2 separate regions of the Homo sapiens genome follow, and region 2 is linked to region 1. The links are contacts of gene promoters, found by promoter capture Hi-C in human tissues and cell types (Jung and others, 2019). All regions are on one chromosome and are shown on one strand. Each heading gives the region's core, a stretch centred on a gene start or on the middle of the fragment in contact. The rest is flanking DNA. Distances are from core to core; before and after follow the strand shown. Region 1 holds the start of NRROS (negative regulator of reactive oxygen species). Region 2 overlaps DLG1 (discs large MAGUK scaffold protein 1).

Region 1 (5,700 bases), core at 1,213-3,712:
GAACTCCAGCCTGGGCAACAGAGTGAGACCCTGTCTCAAAAAAAAAAAAAAAAAAAAAAAAAAAGAAAGAAAAAGAATTAAAAAGAAAAAAAAAAGACCATTGGTTTACTAGATTTTTTTTTTAGGGGTAGCAGCTGCCTTTCTCAAAAGAAATTCTATAGAGAATCTCCCAATGTATAAAACATATCAAAGTAGAATTCTTGGGATGTGGAGGGAATGGGGTACCTGGATCCCACCTGCCAGTCTTTAGGCATTCATGAGGAACCCTTGAACCTGCTGAACCCTGTAAAAGGGCTTTAAGCAGAGAGTGAGATGACCCAATACACATTTTAGAAAGATGCCCGTGGCAGCTAGGTGGAGTTGACATTGGACAGGGATGAGATTAGGGGCAGGGAGCGAGTTTCAGGAGGCTATGAAAGTGGTCCAGACATGAGCTGATGAGGTCTAGACCCAGGGCAACAGCCTAAGGATGAAAAGCAGGTTGGATTCCAGAAACATTTCTGAGTTAGAATCAGCAGGAATTGGGGGTCAATTAGATATGAAGGATGAAGTCTGTGAGGGCTGGACTGCCTGGGCTGAAACATACCGTAAAGTGTGACAGCCATACAGGAGAGAAACTGCTGGGACAAAGGATAAGAGTTGAGTTTGGGGCCAGGCACAGTGGCTCATGCCTGTAATCCCAGGACTCTGAGACTGAGGTGGGCGGATCACCTGAGGTCAGGAGTTTGAGACCACCCTGGCCAACATGGTGAAATCCCATCTCTACTAAAAACACAAAAATTAGCTGGGCGTGGTGGTGGGCGCCTGTAATTCCAGCTACTTGGGAGGTTGAGGCAGGAGAATCACTTGAACCTGGGAGGCAGAGGTTGCAGTGAGCTGAGATTGCGCCACTGCTCCAGCCTGGGTGACAGAGCAAGACTGTCTCAAAAAAAAAGAGAGAGAGTTGAGTTTGGGATACATCATGTTATGGTGACTCTGGGACATGTAGCAGTTGATTGACCAGTAGACAGTTAAAAATGCAAGTCTGGATCTTCTCTCGTGGAAGAGAATGTTGGAGCTAGAAATTAAAATTGGGGAGTTACCAACTGATTGGTAGACACAAAAGACATGAAGTAGAGAATGTGCATACAAGAGAGAAAGAGGCCTGAATCAAGCACCTGGGTTTGCAACAATTTGATCTTTATTTAGCTTTTTCATTGGTGTGATTGTTATTACCATTATGAGATAATATTTTATTTTTAAAATTATTTTTATTTTTTTAAAGACGGAGTCACACTCTATCACACAGGCTGAAGTGCAATGGCGTGATCTTGGCTCACTGCAGCCTCAACCTCCCTGTGCTCAGGTGATCCTCCCACCTCAGCCTCCCAAATAGCTGGGACTACAGGTGCGTGCCACCAGGTCTGGCTAAGTTTTAAATTTTTTGTACATATGGAGTCTCAGTATGTTGCCCAGGCTGGTCTTGCACTCAGGCGGTCCACCTGCCTTGGTCTGCCAAAATGCTAGGATTACAAGCCTGAGCCTCTGTGCCCGGCCATGAGTGAATATTGTAGAAAGCAGAGACAATGTGCCAGATGTTTGGAGTGAAAAGGACTTGGCTCCTGTTCTCTTAGGATGGACAATGCTACACACAATCCCAAATCACAGGCTATAAGAGAGGTGACCCAATCCTGCAGGACAGTTCAACGTTTCAGATTTGAAGGGGAGTGAGAGAGATCAGAACTGGAGGCCCCTTGTCTGAGCCCCCGACTATGGTGGTCCACGTCACTCCACACGCAGCAGGCACTGTAAATATTTCACCTTCTCTAGACGACAGTAGTTCCTCGAGAACAGGAGCGCTGGGGTAATGCATATGAAGCTCTTAGCACAGTGTCTGGCGCTGCTTCAATGATGGCTATATGATCAATTATTCTTACTCCTTTGAATTCTTGGCAAGAGCTGGCAGGGAACTTTGTACACATCAGGTACAAAAAAACCCATCCGCGCAGTCTAAGATCAAGAAGCTCTTGGCACTCTCTGACAGTCCTCGACAAAGCAATTCCCCTTCTTTCTAACACAGGGTCCGTAAAGGAGATGATCCACAAGGACCGGCTGAGTGGATAAGAAGACAGACTGGCTGAGCGGCTGACCCTGCCAGACGACAGGCTGTGCCTCTTTACCACGGTGCTGCCGTTCCCAAAGTCGGCCTCAGCTTGGTCCTTGGCTGGAAGCTCGTAGCAAAGTTTCTGGGTCAGCAGACCTCATAGGCAAGGGGCCCCTAGCTGGCCGCCCCCAGCCCTGCCAAGGCACCAACGCAAGAAAGCCGGGGGAGCCTCGGTCGCATTGCTGGAAGATCGTCTAAACATCCCCGCTGCTCGGCCGCTAGGCCGGCAGGTGTTCGGGCCCCGCTCCCCCGGCCCGCCCCACCCCCGCGCCCGCGCCGCGCTTCCCTCTAAGAGGCCGGGTCTGAGTGAGCCTGTGCTGAGTCGCCGAGCAGCCCGCTCTCCATGTGACTTCAGTTTCCGTCCGTTCCTTCCGCTGGTGCTAAAATAATCTGATGCCCCACAGCAAGGAGGTAGCCCAGCCCCGCGTTCGGCTGCTCTCGAGGAGGCCGGAGCCCCCGGAGACGATGCGCCCCGCGCAGCCGCCTGCGCCTGCGGGAGCCGTGAGTATTTCCCGCGTGGGGGCGTCCCCGGGGCACAGCCGGGGCCCTTCTCCAGGTGGGCGAGCTCGAGCGAGGTTGGGTGGTAGGAGGTCAGCGTCCGCGGCCCGCAGCTCAGGGCTCACGAGGAAGCTGTGGCTTGCTGCGTCCAAGCGCCGCCGCTTTTGTGCTGGGCGTGGGGGCTGCAGCTCTGGGTGGAGGTGGAAATACCTCCCTCCAGGAGCACTTAGAGCTGAGAAAGGTGGTGCGACGTAGTGGAAACCACGAGGGCTTCAGATTCAGACGTGGGTTTGAGTCCTGGCTCTGCAGGGAGCATGTGAGCAGACAGTTAAGGTTTCTGAGCCTCAGTTTTCTCATCTGCAAAATGGGAACAGAGATGCTCCCTCCCTGGGCTGGGCGACTGGATATGATGAGACCGCTCTGTGCACACTCAGCATGCTGAGCACTGGGCTCTCCTTTCCTGTCCCACAACGTGGATTGAGAACCACTATCTCATAGATGAAGACACTAAGACTGGTTAACAGCAACACCTATCACAGATGCCGTCCACGTGCCAGGCCTGTCCAAGGCCCTGGGGATACAGCTGTGAAAATGTGCAAAGCCCCTTCTCCCACAGAACGTTTGTCCTTGGGAGATTCACTGGGGCTCTGTGACTTGGATCTTAGCCTAGACTTAGATCCATGGCTTATCAGAGGGAGACTAACAGGAGGGCGACGAAGACTCGGACGCTCTTCCGTAGCCCTCGTGGCCCCTGCATGTGGGCCGGCTTCTGAAGGGGTCAGCGTACTTCCCCACGTACCCAGGAGCTAGACGGAAAGAAGTAAGGAGCCACTGGTGTGGCTTTGTGCTGCCTCTGAGAGAAGGTGGACACGTGCCAGTTGGTGGCTGCGACTGGAGGAGGCCGGATCGGGGGTCCTAGGAATGGAGCCTCTCCGGACAGGGCTGGTCGGGGCTGCTGTGCTTCCCTAGGGGCTGAGGGGACCCCACCGGAGGCTTCTTCATGATGGGCACAGCCCGTTAGGAGTCTGGGTGCTAGAAACATTCAGCGTCTGTGGCCCTCCATGCTTTCCTGTGTGCTCCTCACCTGCCGGCTGTGACACACAGACTGTTCTGTGGATGCTGAGGGTTTGCTGGGCTTTACATTTACAATACGTATTTATTCTCCTCACACACCTCTTAGGTTTGTGTGTGTGTGCCCGAGAGTCCCTAAAGGAGATTATAGAATCATGGGCCCAGGAAAAAACCTTAACTCCTGCCTTTAGGTTAAAAAAACAAAACAAAACAAAACAAAACAAAACAAACTCAGCTTCACAAAGAAGGCACTTTTTAAAAATATATATATTTATTTATTTATTTTTAGAGACAGGCTCTTGCTCTGTTGCCCAGACTGGAGTTCTGTGGCACGATCACAGATCACTGCAGCCTCAAACTCTTGGGCTCAAATAATGCTCCTGCTTCAGTCACCTGAGGAGCTAGGACAACAGGTGCACACCACCATGCCAGCTAATTTTTAAAATTTTTTTGTAGACACAGGATCTTGCTGTGTTGCCCAGGCTGGTCTCAAACTCCTGGGCTCAAGCAATCCTCCTGCCTTGGCCTCCCAAAGTGCTGGGAGTGTGGGCGTGAGTCACCGCCCCCAGCTTTCATGTAATGAGTGCCCTCATGGGAACTTCATGAAAACACATTCTCTTATAGTTTTTAAATTCATCATCCAAGAGTTCCTGCTCTTTGATGATGAGACATACCTGGTAGACTCCAAAACAGAGAGCAGACGCCTAGTATCTTTGTTCTGGGGTGTGCATTAAGAGTACATTGACCTGTCTGTCTCCAGTCTTGACTCTTTTGGAAGAGAGATGCTAGTACTGATGACAACCTGCATTCTGGCTGCGGTGTGCGTCCACACTGCACAGTGTGCACCAGACTCTCGTATGGACAATGACTGTCCCTCACATCAGGCGCAGATCCATTTTAGAGCCTCAGAAGTCAGGAGAGGGTGGACTTTCAACCACGACTGAAAACACTGTCTTTCTTAGGACATGCTGTGTGTATGACACACTTACAGATGTCTGTGCTCACTGATGCTTGTTGATGTGTCATCGCACATCAGTGACAAACATTTGTCATGTTTTTGCCTTTGGTGGAACTTCTTTATTATACTCACTTTCCTCCCAAACCATTTTTCTCAACTTCATCATGAAGCAAATGTCATGTGGTCATTCTGTGATGGGGCTCAGGGCTAGGTTAGGTGATGATTTCTGAAAGCTCAGAGACGTGAAGGAAAAAGGACATCAGTGCTTGGATCTTAGCTCTTATAAGCCTCACGTGCAACAATAAACCCGAGTTCAAGAATCAGATTCTTAGATAGATTGGTTTGGTAGCAAATGACAAAAAACCAACGTAAATATGCTTCGGCAAAAAAGAAAAAAAAAAAGGATTTATTGTTTCAAATAACTGAAAAGTGTATGGGCAATAGTTTCAGGCATGGCTGAGTCCAGATGCTCAAATGGCATTGCCAGGAATCCATCTGTCTCCTTTCCTCAGCTTTGCCTTCCTCTCTGTGGGCCTCTTTACCAGGCAAGTCCCGGAGCTGGTGGCAAAGATGGCTGCCTGCAGCTCCAACTATATTCCTACTGGTTTGGCATCTGAAACAGAAAGAGCAAGTCTCCTTTCCATGAGTTCTAGCAACTGCCCGTGGATTGATTCTCATGGGCTTGGCTTTTATGATGAGCCTGTTAGGAAAATGGAGTGCTCTCACGGGCCCAGCCTTACTCATAGGCCCCGCCCTGGAACCAGGAGCTGGGATCAGACCCGAACACACAGACTTTTGAAGAAAGGAAGGGGGTTGGTTGCACAGCCGCGTAAGGGTACTTAACACTACTGAATTGTACACCTAAAAATGGTTAAGATGGTCACTTTCGGCCGGGCGCGGTGGCTCATCCCTGTAATCCCAGCACTTTGGGAGGCCGAGGCGGGTGGATCAGGAGGTCAGGAGTTTGAGACCAGCCTGGCCAAAATGGTGAAACCCCGTCACTACTAAAAATACAAAAATTAGCTGGGTG
Region 2 (5,700 bases), core at 1,582-4,081, 550 kb after region 1:
TTTTTCTGCCACTCCCATTTCTTACAATTTTTTAAAAACTACTAAGAGCTGCTAGTGATTTCATTATATTCTCAATACTACTGGATGAAATAAAATGCTAGGAAATATACTTATTTAGCACAATTATCTGCTCATTGACCCTGTTTTTTCTGTTTGATTTCAAGTCCCTCTTAGTAATGTTTACTTTGTATACAATAGTTTGAGCATAATTTTCCTTGCCATTGAAGACAAAAACCAAATATAAATTACTTGTTTCTTCAATGATCACTGCATCCTCCCATACACTCAATAATACTCCTACTGTCCTCCCTGTTGCTTCATGTACATTTCAAACTTTTTGGGAAAAGGCTGAGGTTTTTATTTGTTCGATTTACTGTTCTAACAATTTTTCCTAATTCTCAGCTCATTTTCAGTTTTAGAACCTTGACACTACTCTTACATAACCCCAAAATTTACCCACTGTGTCCTTCTCTTCGACATTAAGATTTTTAAAAAACTATTATATCCCCTATTTCTTTCTTGATATTCTTCCCAACACTGGCAAGAAAGTATCCCTTTCAGAGTCTTAAATTATAAAATCATAATTATCTTTATGCCAAGCCCTGAATAAAGTAACCCAATCACTATCTTACTTTACTCATTATTCCAGTAAGGAGAGCCACCACCATCCACTACCACCACCACCACCACCACAATAATCTAATAGATTAATTCACGGCATGTTTCATGGTGGCAAACCTTTCATAAGAACATTCATCATACAGGTCTTTTAGATTTTGCCCTCATTTCCTAACATGCACCCTAAGTATCAGCAATAATAACATAAACCTTCCTGCATTTCTACAGTTTCTTGTGATTGTCACCCTTCCACTGTATTTATTTACCCCAGTAACGGCCTCCTCCTCTGACTTGGCATCTTACACATCCTTCAACACTTTATGCAAATGTCAACTTGCTTTTTTCAGAAAACTCCAAGAATTTAATTTCTCCCTCTTTCATGTCACATCATACTGTGTTAACTATCTTTCCGTAAAAAAATACTAATCACTGATGTCTAACACAGTTACTAGCACAGATGTTTAATAACTGTTTGCTAAATGCATGTATTGCTTGACACAACTAATATCCTAGCAGTTGATTTTTAAAGCATCTATTAAATTTTATTTTTACCATTAGCTTTTATTAGAATTGTGAAGACTAAAGCTGTGCCTAATTTACAATCTACTCAGCAAACCACTGTTAATTCTAAGATACTTTTTCAAATTATAAAATAATAATTCATATACTGACTTCTACATGCAGCGTAACAGCTGTTCACTCCAAACCACAATACTATAAAAGAGGAAAAGCTCTCTATATTAGCTTTTATTTTAAAAAAGAGACTACTAGTCTAATACTTGACACTGTATTTTAAATAAATTGTTGAGCTTCTTATAACATTCTGGTTTTTTAAAAATTAAGATGAAAAAGCATTAAAGCTTGCCTTCTTATGTCAAAATAAGGGTTGTTTTCCTTCAATTCCGGTTTTCTAACAAAAAGTTAAAGGAACCCTACCTACTCTGCTATAATGCTCACCTGCTCCAAATCTATTACACCCCTCAAATAATTATTTTACGTGGCATCTGCCACAGTAACCTAGGAATGAAAGAGGGGAAGCAGGTAGAAATTCCCCAAACGAAACAGTCTTAATCATTCTTAAATTACAATTCTATCAGAATACAATCTGTCAGAAAGTTTCAAGAACTTGAGAAACGTTCATATTCTTCTGACTCAGTAATCTGACTTCTGGTAATCCATCCAAAGGAAAGAAACTAAATACTTTTCATGTCCAAAGATTACTCATTGCAGGTTTCTTTACAAAACCTAATAAAAATAGAGATAACAGATATCTGAGAGCTGACATGGTCATCAAATTATGGTGCAAATATATCAGGCAATATTATGTATCAAGTTTAAAGTTTTTAAAGTTTAAATTTTTAAAAACTTGATACATCATATTACACAGGAAATATACAAGAAAATATGTTTAACAAGTTTACAATAGGAAAAAACATTAACATATTAAAGTGTGATTTAGAAACAAATGATAGAGAATACACACAATTTTTTTCTGCTGGGATTGAAAATCCTTATCTACTCAGTTTGCAAATATGAATCAGACAGCCAGCAAACCAAAGTGAGGGAAAGGGGACTAGTGAGGGAAAGGGGACTAGTGGTTTCACTTAAGAACCCCAGAGGATGGTTTATAATTGTTTCAGAGACTGATCCTGTTAATACCTAACAAAAGAGAACAAGATGAACAAGGCAGAGCAAGAGAATGGCCCACAAAGATGGCCAGGTTTTCAGACGCTTCTCATAGAACCAGCTGAATGATTATCATAATATCCTAAGACTCAGGAAAGCATGCTGGTACTTTCTTGATCTTAACAAAACGTGTCAGGAAAGGTTTACATATGACTACACAAAGATCGCCACTCAGATAAGGCCATGACAAAATGCCAGCAACTGCAAGATTTCCACCAATTTCAGAAATGGTAAATGTGGAAAAGGTAAGTCTTAGAACTGATGATAAAGGACACTTTAATTAATAACATACTCCTTTAAGCCTCTATAAAATATTTCTTTAAAAAGCTGTGAGGGACATAATCCTTTATCATTGTCAGAATAAACAAAAAGCAAGTATATGTAAAGAAAAAGCAATTTAAAGCAGATACCAAAAAACTGACTTCTCATCTCTTATGGTCAGAAAATTAAGGAAGAAATGAATCAGATTAAGAAAGCAGTGAAAATCTTAAAGTATGAATGCTTTCTCTCTCAATACTATCAATTTAAGTCTCTCACTCTAGAAGGAGGATTCGACAAATGATGTCAGAAGTTTACTTGTAAATATTAATAGCTCAACACAGATAGCACAGTAGTGCAGGAAAATACCTCAAGCTTTGCATTCACGGGGGACTAGTTCCAGGACTAGTCCCCCGTGAATCCTCGCATACTGTACCCAAATCCTCACATACTGAAGTCCTGAAGTCAGCTATGCACTTACAGGAAGTCAGCCCTCTGTATACTTGGGTTTTGCATCCTACAAATACTTTTATGTTTGATTGCATTTGTTTGAAATCTGCATTTGTTTCATCCGCATATAAGTGGAGCAGTGCAGTTCCAACTCGTGTTGTTCAAGGGTCAACTATAGTAGCCGTAATAGTGGTGGCACAATGCTTCGCAACTGTGCCCGCACATTAGAAACACCTGGAGAACTTGTAAACCTCCCAAAGGCCAGTCTGCGTTCCAATTCACATCCCAAGATTGATCACCTTGCATTTAATTACAAGAATCATATACGGAGATGGCTGCTAAAAGGGTTTTGTCGGCCGGGCGCGGTGGCTCCCGCCTGTAATCCCAGCACTGTGGGAGGCCGAGGCGGGCGGATCACGAGGTCAGGAGATCGAGACCATCCTGGCTAACACGGTGAAACCCCGTCTCTACTAAAAATACAAAATATTAGCCAGGCGTGGTGGCGGGCGCCTGTAGTCCCAGCTACTCGGGAGGCTGGGGCAGGAGAATGGCGTGAACCCGGGAGGCGGAGCTTGCAGTGAGCCGAGATCGCGCCACTGCACTCCAGCCTGGGCGACAGAGCGAGACTTCAACTCAAACAAAACAAAACAAAACAACAACAGAAAGGGGGGTTTTGTCATATTAATCTTTGATTTACACAAAAAGTCTTCCCAATTATAATGAAGTAGGTTTTCACTGATGAAGGTAGTGGCTTATTAATCAGCAAAATGGGATTTCACTGGTGAAATCCATAGCATCCCAGTTATGTGAATTTTTTGAATTAATTTAGAGACATAATACACCCTTGCATAAGGGAAACGGAAGACTCTGGAGAGGCCTAAACCCTTAGGGATAACACCTTAGGTTTAATCCCTAAGACATCTGGAGACTCTGGGTAAACAAAATCTTGTGTCTGGAACATTGTTTTATCTGCTTAGAATGAGCATTTTAGGCAACAACGGAAAGCTGAGGTTTCATGAGATTTAAAGAATAGGCTACATAAAATATGCATGCTGGCTCACTGTTTAAATGTCTGCTTGTGTCATAATCTGCAAACACACCAAAATAACTACTAAAATACCTACCAAAAGACCAGAGTTGGCCATGTGCAAATTGGCTTTGGTTGGTTTGTAACAATAAGGATGACCGGAAATTCAAAACATCAGAAATAAAAAAATTATACATATCCTGGGAGTGTTTTTGGACAAAAATAATAAATAAATTAGATTAACTCAATCAAGATAAAAGCAGGCTGACAAGAACAGCACATTCAACAAGCAGTGTTAGGGCTTTACCCGTGCTGAGGTTCTTATGTTGTCTGGAGTAAGAGTGAATGGCATTTATTTACTTTAGACTTTTAAAAGTTAAACATATATTAAAATTTCTACAATAACCACTAAAGGAAGAGAAACAATTTTTAACTTCCAAGCTAGTAATAAGGGAAAGTGAGATGAGAAAATACAATCCAAAAGAAGATATGAGCCAGGTGCAGTGGCTCACACCTGTAATCTCAGCACTTTGGGAGGTCAAGGGAAGAGGATTACTTGAGGCCAGGAGTTCAAAACAAGCCTGGGCAACAGAGCAAGACCCTGTCTCTACCAAACAAAAAAAATAGCCAAGCATGATGGCATGTGCCTGTAGACCCAGCTACTTGGGAGGCAGAGCTGGGAGGATCACTTGAGCCTAGGAGTTTGGGGCTGCAGTAAGCTATGACTGCCAATGCACTCCAGCCTGGGCAACAGAGCAAGACCCTGTCTCAGAAAAACAAAAACAAAAAAGACAAAATGGAAGGAATAGTCTCTAATGTTTAAGAATTAAACACGCTTCTAAGTAACTCACGAGGCTAACAAAAAACAAATCACATCAGACATTAAAAAAATACAATAAGAAAACATTACATATTCAAACTTGTGGGATACATTTAAAAATGCTGTTTCAAGAAACATTTATAAAAGAATACTACTAGAAAAGAAGGCTGGTAATTAGTGCAATAAGCAAGTGACTTGAGAAACTAGAAAAACAAGAAAACAGAATAAACTCAAAGAAACCAAAAAAGAAAAAAATAATAATGATAAAAAGAGAAAGGAAGAAAAGATAGAAGAACTGTTTCTGCCACTAACTGGTAAACAGCCAAAAAATCAGATTTTTTGGCTGTTTACTCTCCTTAACTCTCTTTTAGTTCCCCAAGGGAGGATCAGATTACTTATACTGAACACTATCTTTAATTGATATTCAGCTATCCTACATGTAACTTATATTTACATATACACATATGAATGTACATACATAAACATGTCTTTATGTATGTGTATGTGTGTATAAGAACAGAGGGGTAAGGGTGGTGGCAAACAGGGCAGGGACTCAAGATAATTGTTTTTTTAAGACGGTTCTTTGAAAAGACCATCTTTGAAATTGACACTTTTGGCAAGAATGGTGACGGAAAACAAAGAGTCTGAAATAAGTGATATTATGAATAAAAAAGGGACCATGCCTACATATGCTATAGATATTAAAAGGTATTAGCAGGATATCATAAATAATAATTTGAAAATATATCTGAAATGTTAAAAATTACTAGAAAAAAATAGCCTAGCAAAATTAACTGATAGAAAATCTGAATCGTACTATAACCATTAAAAATTTTAACCA

The links. The method cuts DNA at HindIII sites, captures the fragments that hold promoters and counts their contacts. A contact is called where the count stands out against the background at its distance.
Region 2: a contact is called between a fragment that was not itself captured here and the fragment with the promoter of NRROS in region 1, in 1 of the 25 tissues and cell types used here (lymphoblastoid cells).

What each region holds. Positions count from the first base shown.
Region 1 is chr3:196,637,232-196,642,931 of GRCh38, forward strand. It overlaps NRROS (negative regulator of reactive oxygen species), which reads left to right and starts at 2,463. Exons shown (of 3, transcript NM_198565.3): 1 at 2,463-2,644. RefSeq lists silencers at 2,100-2,529, 2,550-2,649 and enhancers at 3,100-3,219, 4,388-4,737, 4,758-4,817. The HindIII fragment of the contact is 16,873 bases long and covers 1-5,700 here.
Region 2 is chr3:197,187,363-197,193,062 of GRCh38, forward strand. All of the region lies in intron 5 of DLG1 (discs large MAGUK scaffold protein 1), which reads right to left. Among named protein-coding and RNA genes, the nearest start is that of MIR4797, 100 kb to the right of the region's middle. The HindIII fragment of the contact is 5,025 bases long and covers 320-5,344 here.